Linked DNA regions of Homo sapiens: region 2 is linked to region 1. Evidence: promoter capture Hi-C in 16 types of primary human blood cells and fetal thymus (Javierre and others, 2016). All regions are on one chromosome and are shown on one strand. The core of a region is centred on a gene start or on the middle of the fragment in contact, and the rest is flanking DNA. Distances in the headings are between cores, read along the strand shown.

Evidence for each region. The method cuts DNA at HindIII sites, captures the fragments that hold promoters and counts their contacts. A CHiCAGO score of 5 or more calls a contact.
Region 2: a contact is called between the fragment with the promoter of TNFRSF1A here and a fragment that was not itself captured in region 1, in 5 of 17 cell types (naive CD8 T cells, total CD4 T cells, neutrophils and 2 more). The highest score is 7.5, in naive CD8 T cells.

Annotation. Positions count from the first base shown.
Region 1 is chr12:7,109,498-7,113,242 of GRCh38, reverse strand. C1RL-AS1 (C1RL antisense RNA 1) reads right to left here. Exons shown (of 12, transcript NR_026947.1): 3 at 3,096-3,179; 4 at 2,671-2,945; 5 at 1,637-2,218; 6 at 1,179-1,236. Among named protein-coding and RNA genes, the nearest start is that of C1RL, 2.2 kb to the right of the region's middle. The HindIII fragment of the contact is 2,030 bases long and covers 1,442-3,471 here.
Region 2 is chr12:6,339,816-6,343,657 of GRCh38, reverse strand. TNFRSF1A (TNF receptor superfamily member 1A) reads left to right here and starts at 1,582. Exons shown (of 10, transcript NM_001065.4): 1 at 1,582-1,882. The coding sequence starts at 1,844. RefSeq lists an enhancer at 1,680-1,779. The HindIII fragment of the contact is 11,725 bases long and covers 1-3,842 here.

The sequences.
Region 1 (3,745 bases), core at 1,207-3,706:
TTTATTTTGTAACTATCAAAGTTATTAAATAATATTAAAGAAGTTTTACTAAACAGAGAAACATGGTTTAAATCATCCACAACCCCATACTCTAATAGGAAGCAGTTATTTTAGATTTTTCTCACGGGTGCTTTCTATATTTGTAAACATAGTATCCTTACAATTTGGTAGCTTGCTACCTTTACTTAGCATGCCAGGAATCCCAGCTCCCTTACCTGCACTTGGGGGCCTTAACATAGAGCAGAGGTGGCCTATGCTCTTTAGGGACACTTGGGTAAGGGAAAGGGAACTGAAGTAAATGATTGAAGTGTTAGCAATAAGGTGACCAACTGTCCTGGCGTGTCGGGGAACTTAACTGGTTTTAGTGTTGAAAACCTCATGTCCTAGGAAAACCTCATTTCTAGACAGACCAGGATGATTTCTAATAGGTTACCCTATTAGAAAAAAGTCCCCCCAAATTCAGACATCCATTTTCATTTCTACATCGGCCTTTCAGCTATACTTCTTTGCTTTTTTCTACTAGTAGTCACCCTAGGGCAACTGTTCTCAAACTTTATACCCTTAAAAAATTATTGAGAACTCCAGAGAGCTTTGGCTTATGTAGGGTATATCTATTAATAGTCACTGTACTAGAAATCAAAATTGAGAACATTTTAAATCACAAAGATACACAAGCACGCATCCCGCTCACTGCCACGGATGAATCATTGCACATCACGTAGCCTCTGTAAATCCACCATATACCATGACAGAATGAGAGGGAAAAAAGCAAAGAACATCTGAGTATTTTTATGAAAGTCATTTTGTTACCTCACAGACCCCGTGAAAGGATCTTAGGGCCTGTGGGTCTTCCCACACCACAGGGTGGAGACCCGCTGCTCTGGGAATTAGTCTGCATCCTAAACTCCAGTTTTCTCAGTTCCTATTGTACCACTTCATGTGAAATGAAGGAAACTTGTAACCATGAGTCCACCCCCTTGTCCTCTATACCAGCAGTCCCCACCCTTTTTGGCACAAGGGACTGGCTTCATGGAAAACGGTTTTTCCACAAACCAGGGATGGGGCCAGAGGGAGATGGTTTCAGGATAGTTCAAACACATTACATTCATTGCATGTTTTCTTTCTATTATTATTGTTATTGTAATATATAATGAAATATTAATAATTATACAACTCACCGTAATGTAGAATCAGTGGGAGCCCTGAGCTTGTTTTCTTGCAACTAGACGGTCCCATCTAGGGGTGATAGGAGACAGTGACAGGTCACCAGGCATTAGATTCTCATAAGGAGCACACAGCCTAGATCCCTCCATGCATAGTTCACAATAGGGTTCGTGCCCCTATGAGAATCTAATGCTGCTGCTGCTGCTGCTGCTGACAGAAGACGAAGTTCAGATGGTAATGTGAGTGATGGGAAGCAGCTACAAATACAGATGAAGCTTTGCTTGCTCACCACCACTCACCTCCAATACTGGTCCACGGCTCAGGGGTTGGGGACCCCTGCTTTATACTACAGTCTTCATATATGTTACAGCTACATATGTTATAAACCTCACAATACAATGTTATAATTTTTGCCTGGAACAGTTCTACATATTTTAAAGACATTAAAAAGAAAATCGTATTTTATATTTACCTTCAAATTTACCGTTCTTCTTATTCCTGTCTGCAGCTCTGCTCTTCCAATTTGAGACAGCGTCTCACTCTGTCACCCAAGCTGGAGTGCAGTGGCACCGTCATGGCTCACTGCAGCCTCCATCTTCCGAGCTCAAGCAATCCTCCCACCTTGGCCTCCCAAAATGCTGGGATTATAGGCGTGAGCTATCGTGCCCGTCCTAAAGAACTTTCTTTAGCGCTTCTCATAGTGGAGGTCTGCTGGCGACAAGAATCTCTGTTTTCTTTTATCTGAAAATAGCTTTATTTCATCTTCATTCTGGAAGAATACTTTCACTAGAAAAACAATTCTGAGTTGACTTTTTTTTTCCTTCAGCATTTTAGAGATATTCCACTGTCTTCTGGTCTATATTGGTTTTGATGAGAAAAGAGTGACATTGAAAATATTGTTCTGTCTAGTCTTTAGGATGGGATTAAAAAAAAGAAAAGATTTTCTCTTGTCTTTGGCTTTTAGCAGTTTGACCATGATGTGCCAAGGCATGCCCTTTTTTTCATTGACCACTCTGCCAGTTAGAGACGAGGTCCCAGTGTAGGGGAGGTGGTGCTGAAAACACAGCGGGGCACAGCTCAGCCCTAGCCCACAGGGGCCTGCAGTGACCAGCTATGCACAGAGCCATCAGCTCCTTCTCCAGTCTCACATCACCAGCCATTCCTCCCCTTGCCCTTGACCCTAACTCATGCTGCAGCCGCACACGCCACCTAGGTGAGACCAAGGTGGGCCCTCATCTTCAGAGTGCTGGATTACCCCAAACAGGGACCACATCCAGACCCTGGACTGCCCAGTCACCTGGGGCTGCCGGTGCATCACTGCCTCCCCACCCTCTTGGCTCCCTGTCCTCTTTCTCACCCAGCCTCACTCCAGCACTTTAACCCCTATCCATTTAGGGTGACCACCAGTCCTGGCTTGCCCAGAACTTCCCTCATTTTAAAACGGAAAGCCTCATGTCCTGGGAAACCCGTCGGTCCCACGCAAATCAGAACAGTCGGTCACCCTACCTGTCCTGGAGTTTCCTTCCAAGGCCTTACTCCTCCCTCCTCCAGCTCATCTCCAGGAAAGTCTTCTCAGATGGGCTAGCCTGAGTTTTCCAGTTCCTGCCCCTCTTAGCAAACAAGGAAATAATGCTCTGAAGGGAAACGAGGGGTGGACTCCCCAATCCTGATCTGAGTCTTGGCTGGTTTCTTCTTAACACATGGGTCTTGGGATTGGTACCATTGTTCACTCTTTGGCTGCATCTCTGGCTCCCAAGGTGCTCCAGGTGACCCTAAGAGTTCTATGAGAGAGCAGGTTTCAGTGGTCTCAGGGGAGGAAAGAAGTCCTAGTCAGAGAGGCCCACTCCTCGAAGATGGGTATGGGAGATCATCCCCAGTTGTGTTTGGGGTTGGGGTGTGGCAGACAGGTAGGCTTGATCTCAAGACTGTACCTGAGACATTGCATCTGTCCTGGCCATCACTCTCTTATCATCTCCTTGTAGCCATAGACTGTGGCTCTCCTAAATCTCTCTAGCCTAGAAAAACCAAAGATGCAGAGCACACCCTGTTTGGGTCTGTAACTTGCCTCCATATTACTATATGCAAAATGGGGGAAGCAATAGATTCTTCTCTGAGAGGTGTGTGTGCGCGCGCACATGCATTTGTGTGTGCATACAACGTAAGGCCTTCCACACACCTGCCTTCTCTGAGGATGGGACCACCCATCTCCATAAGAGCCTTCTGGCCTCCTACCAAGCTGTGGGTGAGTGTCCTTCCTCGGGGAGCGGTGAGAGCAGGCAGGGGCTCTAGTATCTGCCTAAAGAAGCTTGAGTGACGGCTTGAGTGATGACTGGGACTAGGGACTGAGGGACACCTGGGCTCGACCCCAGCCCTGACCATGCTGGACAAGCAGCCTCCAGAGGTTGTGAATAGGATTCAAAAGACCACCTAAGCGCATGTCCCCCACCCCTGCTTGGGGAGGAGGGAAAGGAAGAGAAAGCTCAAGTTCAAGGATCACAAACTTCAATTCTACAAGAGGGAGGCTCCCCGGGTATGTCGTGAACGGAAAGGTCGGGGAGGAAGAGACATGGCTGATTGAAGG
Region 2 (3,842 bases), core at 333-2,832, 770 kb after region 1:
GCCTCAGCAGCTGCAGGCCCTTGGGCGGGGCTGGATGTAGGGAAGGTCATTGTACCAAGAAGATAGTTGGGTAAATGTGGTACCTTTGTTGTAGGATTCTCTTGGGAGATGTCTGCATCAATGAGGATGGCATAAAGTAACCAGAGTCAGGATGTGGGGTCTGACTCAGTGACAGAAAAAGTGGCAGTGTGTCTCTCATAGCCAAAGGGGCCCTTGGACCGGCAGTCGGGAGTCTGGGGTTCTCTGTTGGCTCTGCCTCCTGGCACATTGGGTTTCTGGACCTCAGTTTTCTCCTCTATAAAACCGGGCAGTTGGGTGGGCACGGTGGCTCACACCTGTAATCCTAGCACTTTAGGAGGCTGAGGTGGGCAGATCATTTGGGCCCAGGAGTTCAAGACCTGCCTGTGTAACATGGTGAGACCCTGTCTCTACAAAAAATACAAAAATTACCCAGGCGTGGTGGTATGCACCTATAGTCCCAGCTGCTTGGGAGGCTGAGGTGGGAGGATTACTTGAACCTGGGAGGTCGAGGCTGCAGTGAGCTGCGATGGTACCACTGCACTCCAGCCTGGGAAACGGAGCGGACCCTCAAAACAAAAACAAAAATGAAAAACAAGCAAACGAAGAAATAAAAAAACCTAGGGGGTTGTAGTCGATGATCTGTAAGGTGAGTTATAATTGATGTATTGGAATATTTAGGAAAAGGGCACTGGGAATATGCTAGGAACACCTGATGGAGGTATCTTTATTTCCACGGCAGCTTCGTGGATACGTCTCATTGATTCTCATGGCATCACTTTCCCCATGTAGGTGGGCAGACATTGTTACCCCTGTTTAATAAACAAGGAACCAACAGAGGCTTAGGAGAGGAGTTGCCTGATGTCGCATGATTGGTGGCAGAGCCAGGATCAACAGTGGGGCAGGGTGGGGGGACCTGGCCAGGCAGAGACTGGATGAGACCTGGGGTGAGGAATGGCAGGCACCCAGTCAGGGCAGAAAACGAGGGTTGGGACTTACTTTGAGTTTTGGATTGGATCAGTAAATTCCCAAGAAAGAGGGAGACTAGGAGGCTAGTGAAGAACTCTGGAGTAAAGGGGAGGATTACTAAGGGACATGGAGTACCTATCATGTGTCGGACGCTTATCTATATCTCTCCCATCTGAACAAATCCTTACAGGAACCCCAGGAGACAGGTTATCTCCACTCTGCAAATTGGAAAACAGATCCAGACAGTTTCAGTTATGTGTCTGAGAAGTTCATTTATGTGTCCAAGACACATTCTTAGCTAAAAAGCTAAGCATTCTGAATTGGAACCCAGAGAATTTGACTCCCAGACTCTGGATCTTTTCACTGCTGTGATCCATCTGGGAAAGGCTAGTGATGTGGGCAAGGGGCTTATTGCCCCTTGGTGTTTGGTTGGGAGTGGTCGGATTGGTGGGTTGGGGGCACAAGGCAGCCAGATCTGGGACTCCTGTGCTTGTGACTGGACTACAAAGAGTTAAAGAACGTTGGGCCTCCTCCTCCCGCCTCCTGTGGCCTCCTCCTCCAGCTCTTCCTGTCCCGCTGTTGCAACACTGCCTCACTCTTCCCCTCCCACCTTCTCTCCCCTCCTCTCTGCTTTAATTTTCTCAGAATTCTCTGGACTGAGGCTCCAGTTCTGGCCTTTGGGGTTCAAGATCACTGGGACCAGGCCGTGATCTCTATGCCCGAGTCTCAACCCTCAACTGTCACCCCAAGGCACTTGGGACGTCCTGGACAGACCGAGTCCCGGGAAGCCCCAGCACTGCCGCTGCCACACTGCCCTGAGCCCAAATGGGGGAGTGAGAGGCCATAGCTGTCTGGCATGGGCCTCTCCACCGTGCCTGACCTGCTGCTGCCACTGGTGAGACCAGGGACAAAGGGAAGAGTGGGCTGGTGGGCGAGGCACCTTCCGGCTGGCGTGGGCCCTCTCCGGGAGGGGGCCGAGCCTCTCCTGCCCGGGCCTGGTCCTGGCGCCAGCCTCAGGCCTGCAGGTCCTAACCTCAGCCACTGCCAGTGTGGGGTTCCCCATTCATCCGCCTTTTGGAGTAGGGGCTGCGCTGAGGCAGGGGAATGGGAGAAGTTTGAAAGGGAGAGAGTAAAAGGAAGCCCTGGCCCCTGACAGCGGTGGAAGTTTGTGGGCGGCCAAGGGAATGTGGGCAGGAGATAGGCCCAGGGTGGGGCAGATTTGGCGGGGAAAAGAAGGGAGTGGGAGTAGGAAGATTAGTGCTCGGGGAGTCCAGACGGTTCTGAATTCTGTCCCTCCGGTCAGCTGGCTGGCCTGGAGGGTGTTGGGCCGTGGGGAGGCGAGGCTGCCTGTGGAACTTGGTGGAGCACACCCTGTAGGGCAGGATTTTGGCGGCTGGTGAAGTGGGGGAGTGAGTTGAGGAGTGGGGATGGGCTGGTGTGGTGGGTTTGGGATGCTCATGGTGGGAGGTATTTGAGAATGGGCTGGGACACTGGATGGGGCAGGGCAACCCAGTGGACAGTGTCCCCAGTGCCCTGGCCAAGCCCCGGCCTCTCACCTGGGGACATTCTTTACCCTTTTGCCTGCTGCTAGGCAGGTAGCCGCTGTGGGACTGAGCCTTCCCAGGGAGCTAGTCCTACCCCCACCTGGTCAGTGTCCCTGGGCCTGTCCTCCAGCTTCCCCTCCCCGCTGCTTCTCACAGACCTAAACAACAATCCCTTGGTTTCTTATTCTACAGTTCAGTTTGGGGAAGTTGGTAGAAAGTTGTTTTCGTCACTGGAAAATGTCCCTTTCTCTGGCCTCAGCCTTGTTTCAATGTATCCTTGATCGTCCTCCACGTCTTGGTCCGGGAATCATCCTGTTCAGATGTCCTGGGCCCATCTAGTCAGGCAGATTTTCCCTGCCCTGCCCGGCCTCTGAAGGCTGCGCCTACCTCCCCTCTCTTTAGTGCCTTATACTCTTCCTCTCCTACCATTCCTTTCTTCCAGCAATCTCCCCAGACTCTCCTCAGACTTCTCAGAGCCTCTTTTTTTGAAATCTTTTCTCGCTAATCCTCCTTCCCCTCCTCTCTGCTCCGCTCTGGTCCCGGCCCCAGGTCCCCAGGCAGCACGTCTCTGGTCAGGGTCTCACTCTTCTTCTTCTGCCTCCTCCTGCCTCCTTAGTCCCACCCGCTCTTCCCTTCTTCCCACTGTCCTTCCCCCACGGTCTCCCCACCAGCCAGCTGCCCTGACATCCTGCTTCTGTTTTCTGTTTGGGGGCGGCCCCTGGCTCCCTCACATACCTCCTGCATGAACAAGAGCAGCTTATATAACCTAACCTTCCATGCCTTCGTTTCTTTATCTCCAAAATGGGTGTCACAGTCTTGACCTCATACTGTTGTTTTGAAGATTGAATAGACTGATACATGTTAAGTGTTCATTTGATTTATTAAGTGTGCGCTCTGGGCTAGACACTGTGATAGGTGCTGGGATTACAGCAGAGAACAAAATCCCTGCCCACAGCTTTGACAGTCCATCAGGGGAATAGGTTGTAGCAAATAGAAAGCACTCAATAAAGTTTTTATATTGCTGTGACTAGTAGTAATTACTGGGTGGCTACCTGTGTTGGGAAAACAGAGGGTAAAGGTAGCCTGAACAGGTAAAGGGAAGTGCCTGCGTCCTGGGGTGCTTCAGCCCAGGTGGGATTATGTCTCCTAAGGGACAGAAGCCTGGCCTGGAGCTGGAGGAAAGGGAAAACAAAGGGAATGCAACATCCTTCTGAATTTCTCACCATTCAGTGGGCAATGCAGAGCTCACAGTGTGTGTGTGTGTGTGTGTGTGTGTGTGTGTGTGAGAGAGAGAGAGAGAGAGAGAGAGAA